Linked DNA regions of Homo sapiens: region 1 is linked to region 2. Evidence: promoter capture Hi-C in human tissues and cell types (Jung and others, 2019). All regions are on one chromosome and are shown on one strand. The core of a region is centred on a gene start or on the middle of the fragment in contact, and the rest is flanking DNA. Distances in the headings are between cores, read along the strand shown. Region 1 overlaps DLEU1 (deleted in lymphocytic leukemia 1). Region 2 holds the start of KCNRG (potassium channel regulator).

Region 1 (5,873 bases), core at 579-3,078, 470 kb after region 2:
TGCCAAGAGTTCCATCACTTCCAAAAAATTTCTCATGCTGCCTGGTTGTCATCAGTCTTTTTTCTACCTCCAGCCTCTGCTAACTGCTGATCTGTTCTCCATCCCCATAGTTTTGTCTTGTTTTGAATAACATATAAAGGGAAACTATAGCATGTAGTCTCTTGAGTCTGACCTATTTCATTAGCAAAATGCATTTGAGATTCATTCGTATTGTTTCATGCATGAGTAATTTACTTCTTTTTATTGTAAAAGAGTATTCCATTGTATGGATGTATCAGTTTGTTTATCCATTCACCCATGGAAGGAAATTTGTACTATTTCCAATTTTTGGCTTTAATTATTATATTTTTAAACCATCTTATTGAAGTATAATTGACATACAAAATCTGTCCTTATTTAATTTATACAACTTGATGAGTTAGGAGATAAGTATGCACTCATCAAATCATCACCATAAACCTATACTTCACCATAAATCATGCCATAAACCTATACTTCACTTCCAAAAATTTCCTCCTGCTTTCTTTCTTTATTATAATAATAATTATTATTATTATTTGTGATAAAAGCACTCAACATTAGATCTGCTTTTAAAGCAAAATTTTAAGGATACAATATATTATTGGTAATTACAGTCCCTGTGCTTTACAGTAGATCTCTAAGATTATCCATTTTATATAATCAAAACTTTGTACACTTTGACTCATACCTTCCATTTCTCCCTCCCCACAATCTCTGACCACTATCCTTCTATTCTCTGCTTCTATGAGTTTGACTACTTTAGATTCATTACATAAGTAATATCATGTAGTATTTGTCCTTCTGTGTCTGGCTTATTTTACTTAGCATAATGTATCCCAGGTTCATCCATGTTGCTGTAAGAGGCAGGATTTTCTTCTTTTTTAAGGATGAATAATATTCCCTTGTATGTATATATTACATTTTCTTTATCCATTTAGGAGTCAGTGGACATTTAGGTTGTTGCTTTGATGCCTCGGTGATTGTGAATAATGCTGCAGTGAATATGGAAATGCAGATAGCTCTTGAAAATACTATTGGCTTATTATTTATACCTCTTTTATATTTTTACTTTTAGTGGTTGCCCTAGAGTTACAATATTTATCTTTAATTAATCTGAGTTTACCTTCAAATAATATTAAATCACTTCACATGTAGTGTATGGACCTTGCAACAGTATATTCAAATTCCTTCATCTTTTACTTTATGCTATACATTTAATTTTACATATGCTGCAAGCACATAGTATATTGCTACTATTTTTTTTCTTTGCATAATCAATTATCATTTAGGCACTTAGGAGTAAGAAAATGCATTTTTAAATCTTTATTTATTTCCTTTCCCACAACTCTTTATTTGTTTGTGCAGATCCAACTTTCTCTCTGGTGCTATATTACTTCTACCTGGATAGCCTTCTCAAACATTTCTTATAATGCAGGCCTATTACCAATTAATTCTCCATTTTTCTTTTCGAGAAAGATTTTATTTCACCTTTAGTTTTAAAAGATGTTTTCCTGGGTACAGAACTCTGGCTGACAGTTTTTAAAAAATCTTAATGATGTCACTCCATTTTCTCCTGGCTTACATGATTTCCCACGAGAAGTTTGTTCTTATTTTTGTTCCTCTGTATAGAATGTATCTTTAGTTTAGTTTTGTTTTAATAAATTTTATTTTTAGAAGAGTTTTAGGTTTACAGAGAAACTGCAACAGTAGTACAGAGAGTTCCAGTATATCTCATATCCGGTTTACCCATTATTAATATCTTATGTTAGTATGGTACATCTGACCCAATATTGAAAAATTATTATTAACTAAAGTCTGTACTTTATTCAGATTTCCTTAGTTTTTACCTAATGGCATTTTTGTGCTCTAGGATCCCATCTACCACATTATGTTGTGATCATGTCTCCTTAACTCCTCTAGGCTGCGACAGTTTTTCAGGATTTCTTTATTTTTGATGACTATGATAGATTGAGGAGTACTGGTCATGTGTTTTGTAGAATGTCCCTCAATTTGGATTTGTCTGATGATTTTCTCAAGATTCGACTGGGGTTATGGGTTTTTGGGGAGGAAGACCACAGAGGTAAAGTGCCATTTTTGTAATAATCATATTAAGGAGACTTACTGTTAACATAACTTTTCACTCTTGATGTTGACCTTGATCACGTGGCTAAGATAGTATTTGTCAGATTTCTCCACTGTAAAATTACTCCTCTCTCTTTTACTTTTGAAATCTTTGGAAGGAAGTCCATATAAACAGCCCATGATTAAACAATGGGGAGTTAGGTTTATTCTCCTTAAGGGTAGAGTAACTACATAAATCATTTAGGATCTTCTACAAGTGAGACTTGTCTCTTCTTCCCCGTTATTTATTTATATCAATATTAATGTCTTTTATTTTTGGCTGCCTTCAGAAATTTTCTCTTTCTCCTCTCTTTGTTTTTTATCATTTGGATAAGACATATCTCAGGTTTGTTTTTTAATTTGTTTGTTTGTATTGTGTGTATCCTCACTGGTGTTCTTTGTGTTTCTTGGATCTGTGGTTTGGTGTCTAATGTTAATTTTGGAAAAATCTTGGTTATTATATGTTCAAATGTTTATTCTGCCCTATTCCCTCTCTCTTCTTGTAGAATTTCAATTAAACACATCTTAGGTATATGTCATTGTTCTACATTCCTTTGATATTCTATTCTACTTTTTTCATTCTTGTTTTTCTTTTAATTCAAATAACTTATATTGACCTATATGAGGCTTACTGATTCTTTCTTTGACTAGTCAAATGTATTGATGATACACTCAAAGGCATTCTTCATATCTGTTACTTTTTTATTATTATTATTTGTAGCATTCCTACTTAAATCTTCCTTAGTACTCTCTCTCTCTGCTGAAATTACTTATCTGATCCTGTGTGTTGTCTCCTTTTCCCATTAGAACTTTCAACATATTAATTATAGTTATTTTGAATTTCCTATTTATGGTTTTGATATTTGTATTATATCTGAGTCTGCTTCTGTCGATTTACTCATGCCACTGTGTTGTTTTTCTTGCTTTATTTTTGTATGCTTTGTACTTTTTTGGTTGAAAGCTGTATACTTTCTGTAGGACAATATATACTAAAGTAAGTGATTTTTTTTTTTTTTTGAGACAGAGTCTTACTTTGTCACCCAGGCTGGAGTGCAGTGGCACAATCCAGGCTCACTGCAACCTCCACCTCCCAGGTTCAAGTGATTCTCCTGCTTCACCCTTCCAAGTAGCTGGGATTACAGGTGTGCGCTGCCACACCCGGCTAATTTTTTAAAATTATTATTTCTAGTAGAGGCAAGGTTTTGCCATGTTGGCTAGGCTAGTCTCAAACTCCTGACCTCAGGTGATCCGCCCGCCTCGGCCTCCCAAAATGCCGGGATTACAGGTGTGAGCCACCGTGATGGCCAGGTAAATGATTTTTATTCCTGGAAATGAGCACATTTCCTTCTGCTAGGACTCTAATGTGGATTATTGAACCAATCTACTTAGGGATTTAATTGGAATAGAGATTGCTGTTGCTCTGGTTAACTACAGTGTACTACAGACTTCAAATTCCTGTAGTGACACTTTGTGTGTTGGGTGGAGGCTGGTTCGCCAGAAGGCTTTTTCTTAATATCCATTCTCAGCTTTAGGTCTTTATTTTACACTATGCCTTAGAGATGGTCTCTTTCCATACTCATTTAATTCTTCCACCATTACTAACTGTTACTTGTTACTTAATGCTTGTTAGAGTGGTGGCGTGGGGTCAGGAGTCCATTCTTCATTCTTTTCATGAAGCTTGTTTTTAGGCAGGCACTGTGTGTCTCTGGAGACCTTTTTCTGTATTTTTTACTTTAAAAAGTATGGAGTCCATTCATAAGGATGCTGGCGGGGGCAGTAAGGAGATATCTGGATGTACTTTAATCCAAAAACCATATTTTAGCATGTTCTATGTGCCAGATCCTGGGCCAGATGCTCTAAATGCAAATGGACAATGACGTGGTTCTTCCAATTCAGAAGCTCTGTATCAGAGAACCATAAACTGGTAAATAGGTGTAGACTCAAGGTACTTTGAAACCCAACAGAGGGCTTTTTTGCTCAGTGCAGATGAGGGTGATGGTCAGGGAATCTTTCCTAGATGGACTCCATCCAGACCACCATCTCTCTAGGACATCTGATTTTGTGCTCCATCAGACAAAAGGCAATGGTTTGAGATGAGAGAGAGAAAGACCTAAGTATTTGAAGTAAGGATACAGGAGGTGAGGAAACTATGGAGAAATACAGTGCCCTCTGAAGGTCATACTCTCAACATTACTTCAGGTATCTTCATAGTGCTATCTCTAGAAAAATCAAGGGTTTTTTTTTGTTTCAGACAAATCTGAAATCTGAAATTTGAAATCTGGATTTCTCACCTACAAGTTGAGGAATCTTAGGAAAATTACTTTCCCAACGTTCACTTTTCTCATATATAAAATGACAAAGATGTTTTCTGTCCCATTGGATTGCTGTAAACATTATGTGAAACATCAGCTTCTAGAAGATCCATAATAAGTAGTTACTATTATTGTTGTTGTTATTTGCAGCCACTAAATTGAATTGTTTTTAATTCTTTAGGTACCCTAATGACAAGTTCACCCCAGTGTTTTCTGAGGAGTCTACCTGGAAATGAGAACCATCTGTCCTTCCTATAGTAGTTCTTCTCAGAATGCCGACTCTATGCTAATGGTGAGAAAGTAGCTTCCAGATCAGACCCCCTAAAAATATATCTAAAAACTCAACTCCTGTGGTCATCTCTTTCAAGTATTTAAACCTCAGAATTTTCTCCAGCAAGCATATAGGCCCCATAGAGTCCATAAGCTTGCAATGTCTTGGCCATGTGTACCCATGTGGTACATTCAACCACCAAACTGGAATACGATATTGCATTTCCTGGGCAGGATTAAGAGTGAGCTCTCTTAGGCTCAGATGACCCCCACAATCAAAGGTAAGAGGGCTGTAACTGAAATATCACTCAACAGTCATGCCAGGAATAATGGACACTGAAACGACTACCATGCCTTGTGGTGAGTGCCCTCCTTTGGGGATTAGCAAGATGGTAGGGGATGTGCAGAAGACTGCAATGGGTCTCTTAACCCTTCCTTCCTTCAGTATATAATCCAGGTTATTTTAGAAATAGAACACCAGTGATGTGTTTGTGACAACTTCTACTGGTCCTGTAATCTAGTTAGAATTGGGTGGATGACCCCTTATAAATCCTAACTAGATTACAGGACCAGTAATGTGTCAGTCTTAATTAATTCATTGGTTTATTTATTCATTCATTCTTTCATTCATTTTTTTACTTGTTCATCCATTCATCAAAAGTATTTTTAGTACTTTACCTACTATTAGCTGGGCTTCAGTTAAATAATTTTGTATTTTTTTTTCCTTAATAGAACTTATGATCTGGTGGAAGGACATGATAACTAATCAAATAATCACAAATATGTATTTCAGAGGTAATTATTCTAAAGGAAAGTTATCTGACTTGGTTTTTCTGGGAAGTCTTGCCTAAATGAGATAATTTTTGAAGTGGGTGAGCTGGCCACTTAGGGCTTGGGAGAGGTTAACAGAATGAGGCCACAGGTAACTTCTTGGGCAGCATGTGCAAGGGCCTTGGGGACAGAGGGCTGTGGTACGTTTGATGGACTGTGAACAGAACAGTCAGGCTGTAGTATAGAGAGTGAGGGAAGAGAGTGGTGCAAAATAAAGCTGAAAATATGGGCATATGTCAGGTCATTCAGGACTTTGTAAGGCGTGTGAAGGGTTTGGGTTGTCAGTTGAAGGGTTAGGGAAACCACTGAAGAGATTTA
Region 2 (5,694 bases), core at 715-3,214:
ATAGTAGTGATTGTTCTTCAAGCATGCAGTAAAGATCACTTTTTTTTTTTTTTTTTTTTTTGAGATGGAGTCTTGCTCTGTCGCCCAGGCTGGAGTGCAGTGATGCAATCTTGGCTCACTGCAGCCTCTACCTCCCAGGTTCAAGTGATTATCCTGCCTTAGCCTCCTGAGTAGCTGGGATTACAGGCGCGTGCCACCACGCCCAGCTAATTTTTTGTATTTTTAGTTGAGACAGGGTTTCACTGTCCCTTAAGACCATCCTGTTAGCCAAGATGGTCTTGATCTCCTGACCTCGTGATCCGCCTGCCTCGGCCTCCCAAAGTGCTGGGATTACAGGTGTGAGCCACCGTGCCCAGCCAAAGACTGCTCTTAAAGCACCTTTTTGACAGTGAACATGGTCTAAAAAAGGGAAGATATTGTAGAAGATTTCACACACACACGCGTGTGTGGGAGACAACTAAAGGTATTGAAGGTACTAATTAATTAGATTTCCAAAATTTTCTACAGAGAGTTAATTATCACCAAAATGTGAATGGTACATACAAAACCTGGCATTTTCTTGTGATAAGTTTACATTTTTAGGAGAGTGGAGCTTTCAATCTGCCCTTTTCTCCTTTGTTTTTGTAGTTTTCACCAAAGATGATCAACTAGAAATGTTAAGTGGCTATGCAAGCAAAAGCATAGATAGGTTAAAAAAAAGGATCAGCTGGCTGGGCAGGGTGGCTCATGTCTATAATCTCAGCATTCTAGGACAGTGATGTGGGAGGATTATTTGAGGCTAGGAGTTCCAGTTCGAAACCAGCTTCGTAAACATAGCAAGACCCAGTCTCTACCAAAAAAAAAAAAAAAAAAAAAAAAAAAAAAAATATATATATATATATACACACACACACACACATATGTACACATACATATATATACATATATATGTATATATAGAACACATGGCAAGAGCAGGAAATGGGAAGACTACCTTTTTTCTGGCAGCTATGTGTTGTTTTGTTCGAAAGATGGCAAGTGTACAACCAAACCAATCCACTTGCTTACAGAAAGAATGTTTAGTGTAGTTAAGACTAATTTGACAACAGATAAAACAGTCTGTCAGCTATTACAAAGTAATCAGCTGAACACTAATGCTGTTCTGTCTGCTCACAAGAGATAAAGATACCCTCTCATGGAATAAACACCTTGCTTAGAATTCATATAACAAAGAAGTAACCTTATAACTGCTCTCTAGTCTGCCTTATTTGTGTCATAGAGTAAGATATTCCTTGAAAGCCCATTAAGTGGAATAGACTTTCTGAAAATAAGAGTTCTTTACCTCAGTCCTCCTCTAATTTGGTTGAGAGGAGGTAATGAAAATGGGGACAGGATAAAAGGTGGCAACTAAATTTAAAGCACAGAAGAAATGATTTCCTTCTAGCTATGAGAATAGTCAAATTGAGCTTGCCAGGCTGTCTCATTCCTAACATGTAATTCATGATTTAGCCACTAAATTTCTAAGGAGATCATAAGAAATTAAGAAAAACGTTTAAGTCTAGCCTCTGCGTGGTAGACAGGTATGGGGAGGGAGAATGCTTTTCCCCTCCCAGTAATAAAAAAAAAAAAAAAAAAAATATATATATATATATATATATATATATATATATATATATATATATATATATATATAGTTTTACTAGGTTTTCATGGATAAGTTTTTAAATGTAAGACAGGAAAGGGATCTATTTGATGTCTATCTTCAGATATATTGGCAGTTTTCCTTAAGCTATTTAGTTCCTCATCTGTTGCTTTTTCATTTTGTATACTGCAAGTTCCCAGGCAACTCGAATTTGCAAACACAGCCATGGATACACTATTTACCTTACAGTAGTTTCCTGGGAATCTAAGTCTGGTTTTTGTTATTCTTCCCTCCCCTCCACTGCATAATCATGTATAACTAGCAACATTTATGGTTATAGGTTGATTTCCTAAGTGTGGCTGATGGTAGCCTCTAGTTTGAAGTGAGGGAAGAATGAGTAGTCAGGAACTGGTCACTTTGAATGTGGGAGGGAAGATATTCACGACAAGGTTTTCTACGATAAAGCAGTTTCCTGCTTCTCGTTTGGCACGCATGTTAGATGGCAGAGACCAAGAATTCAAGATGGTTGGTGGCCAGATTTTTGTAGACAGAGATGGTGATTTGTTTAGTTTCATCTTAGATTTTTTGAGAACTCACCAGCTTTTATTACCCACTGAATTTTCAGACTATCTTAGGCTTCAGAGAGAGGCTCTTTTCTATGAACTTCGTTCTCTAGTTGATCTCTTAAACCCATACCTGCTACAGCCAAGACCTGCTCTTGTGGAGGTACATTTCCTAAGCCGGAACACTCAAGCTTTTTTCAGGGTGTTTGGCTCTTGCAGCAAAACAATTGAGATGCTAACAGGGAGGATTACAGTGTTTACAGAACAACCTTCAGCGCCGACCTGGAATGGTAACTTTTTCCCTCCTCAGATGACCTTACTTCCACTGCCTCCACAAAGACCTTCTTACCATGACCTGGTTTTCCAGTGTGGTTCTGACAGCACTACTGATAACCAAACTGGAGTCAGGTATTTTGTACTTTGCAGTATTTCTCTTGTATACCAGTTTGTGATGTTTTCTCTAAAAACTTGAAGTTCCTCAGGCCTGTAACTTCTGGAAAAGATGATTATTCAAAATAATGTTTTGGGGTAACCAGTGGAGTTGGGTAGAATGACCAAATAATTATTTTCCAAACTGGGATACTTTTTAGAGTGAAAGGGGCTATTATTAGGTGGGACAAAAGGAATAAATGAAGACTGCCCAGAAAAAACTGAGACTATGGACATTCAAATCATGGGAGAAAATAATTTTGTAGATTATGTTCCATTGCTAATGAATTTGACTTAGAAAAGAATTGCCTTATTTTTAAGAGATTGTTTCAGTGGTTCACATAAAGGCTCGCTCACTGGTTTCTCTTGAGTTCCTTACACACTATATAAGTTGTTCTTTCAGTTTTATGATTCAACTACTGTTTTTCCTTCAGCTGACTTTATTTTTAAACACCCTTAAAGACAGATATATCTCATGGCAAATTTGGTATCCTGTTACAGCCTTGGCTCTTAAACAACTCAAAATATTGGGATAGGCTGTCAGTATGTTAAGGATAGTTGCTCCTGAGTCAATTCTTCACTTACTCCCTCTGTTGTTCTTGGCTGGATCCTAACGCTGATTTCCACTCTGCTGTCACAAACATTTTTCCCCCCGTAAAATGTCTTAATGCTGTCCTACCATTATTTTACCAACTGTGAAAGCTGGCTTTAATTTTTAGGAGGAAAAGAAAAGCCTGCATGTGTTCTTTATTGGTATCATTTAAAATATACTTTTTTTTTTTTTTTTGGTAAAGGTAGGCGTATTTTAAGATATTTTCTTAACTTGAGCAGTAGCCAACAGGAAGGATACCAGTGTCTCTCTCTCTTAGCGACACACTCCTTGGTCTTGCTTACCAACTGGAGGACACTAGGTAGAATAACCGAGTATGACAATTCTTAATTGTTTACATTTTATAACTTCCTGTCCTTCAAAAGAGTTTGAAATGTCATTTTGGGAAAAGAGAGCCAGTCAAGCTAGTAGGCTGATTGTGAAGAAAATCTAATACCTTATCTTTATCTCAAACCTCTGTACAACTTTATTTTCATTGATGGGATACTTTAACAAAAATGAAATTTTTTTTGGTTTTTAAAATATGAGTGATTATGACCTCTTTGGGGATCATGCTTCAAAAAGTCAGAAACCTAGAGACAAAACTGTCATTGATTTTTAAGAAGAAACACACTAGGTCAAAAGAAGATGTCCTGGAAATACGAAGTACTCTTTAAAAACCATGCATTTGGAGAAAGTAATTGTTTCCTTGAAAAACATGATTAAAAACTAAAACTGGGATGTTCCTGTGTGTACACAGTGCCAAATGGTTTTCCCTTTTTATGTTGTGTTTTAGAAACAGCACGAAAGTTTTTTCCATTTTAAAGTGAGAAAACATTATATTTAGACTTCCATAATTCCAAAATCAGAAGCTATTTTTAAAATTAGCATTTTCTTGCATCACCAAATGGTATTCAATTGTTTGAAGCTCAAAATTTTTACCATTCCATAAATGTTTGTGAATTTTTAGACAGTGCCAATTTAAAAGTAGAGATAGCCAATCTGAATACGGTGAAATTATGGGGATCTCTGGTGATTGGGATGAAAACTCTGGCCTTAAAAGGTCCACTTTTAGTATATAATTGCCTAATTAGCAATCATTTTTATTTTTTGCTCACTCCCTGGTCTGAATCTATCTGTCTATTCAGATATTTTTTGGTAGGTTTGGAAAATGGAGAAGTGAGCCTAATTGGTGCCTAATTGTCTGGTGTATCATTCACTTTATTCAGTTTGTTCTATCAATATGATTTACCCCTCAAGGTTAACCTAGCAGGTTGCTCAGTTATTATCTCTCAAGGTCACAGTACTAGAAATACTTGGCTTGCATCTTTCAGATGCCATTCATGTTATCAAGCTCAAATTATAGTTGGTCACAGGATTCTAAAGTCTTTATTTGACTTCTCCTTTTTGAACTGGCTCAAATGGAAAAGTGTAGTTGCTTTTAAATGTTAAAAATAAGTTTAAACTTTATATTTCCCATTGGTTTCCCCTATTTTGTCCTTTCTTTGTGTGCTTGAAATATTTTATTTTTCAGTTTGTCCTCATAGGGAATCAAGTATTTTAGCTAGGTGATGTCTTGCAAGTACGTTCCACTTTGTTACAATCTACTATCTGTATATACTATTTGTATCTTAATTCTTTTATGAGATGTTCTGTAACATTTTTCTCACTTTGACAAATGTTTTTAGACTGTACAGTCAAGATCTGGCGCTTGGGGGTAAGTGGAATGATTTGCTAATATTGAGAATCTGTTGTATCAAACATAATAAACTTTTTTTGAGATGTGCTTTGTAGTTTGGTAATTCTTAGATTTTACTATTGGTTTCTTTGCTTAGAATGAGTTTCTAAATGTGAACTACAAAAACCACTCTACTTCAAGCATGATCATTAGAAGAAGGTTAGGGATGTCCCCAAGCATCATTTTATCCCTTAAAACTACAGATAGTTTAGGTTTCTGCCTGAACTAATCTAAGTTAGCTTTTTCTTCACATCTCATAAACTAATGGTGGGAGGACACAAAGAGCTTTATGAAAACATTTTTGATGGCAGATAAGGACGGAGTCATAAAGCTGTATCCATGCAGATGTGTTATGCTGACATTATTGTTATTATTGAGATGGAGTTTCACTCTTGTTGCCCAGGCTGGTATGCAATGGCGTGATCTCGGCTCACCACAACCTCCGCCTCTGGGGTTCAAGTGATTCTCCTGCCTCAGCCTCCCGAGTAGCTGGGATTACAGGTATGCACCACCACACCTAGCTAATTTTTGTATTTTTAGTAGAGACGGAGTTTCACCATGTTGGTCAGGCTGGTCTCAAACTCCCGAGCTCAGGTGATCCACCAGCCTCGGCTTCCCAAAATGCTGGGATTACAGGCATGAGGCACTACGCCCAGCCTATGCTGACATTATTAAAGCCAACAGATAGCTAATCTGAAAAGTTCATGTGCATTTTTTTCTTTTTTTCTTTTGTTTTTTTTTTTGAGACGGAGTC

Evidence for each region. Contacts are between HindIII fragments. The study calls those that stand out against the background at their distance.
Region 1: a contact is called between a fragment that was not itself captured here and the fragment with the promoter of KCNRG in region 2, in 1 of the 25 tissues and cell types used here (hippocampus).

The regions. Positions count from the first base shown.
Region 1 is chr13:50,488,016-50,493,888 of GRCh38, forward strand. It overlaps DLEU1 (deleted in lymphocytic leukemia 1), which reads left to right. Exons shown (of 7, transcript NR_109974.1): 5 at 4,636-4,746. Among named protein-coding and RNA genes, the nearest start is that of DLEU1-AS1, 36 kb to the right of the region's middle. The HindIII fragment of the contact is 5,039 bases long and covers 1-4,348 here.
Region 2 is chr13:50,013,480-50,019,173 of GRCh38, forward strand. It overlaps KCNRG (potassium channel regulator), which reads left to right and starts at 1,965. Exons shown (of 2, transcript NM_173605.2): 1 at 1,965-2,592. The coding sequence starts at 2,015. TRIM13 (tripartite motif containing 13) reads left to right here. Exons shown (of 2, transcript NM_213590.3): 2 at 1-4,988. The region is part of intron 10 of DLEU2 (deleted in lymphocytic leukemia 2); the gene reads right to left. The HindIII fragment of the contact is 16,932 bases long and covers 1-4,544 here.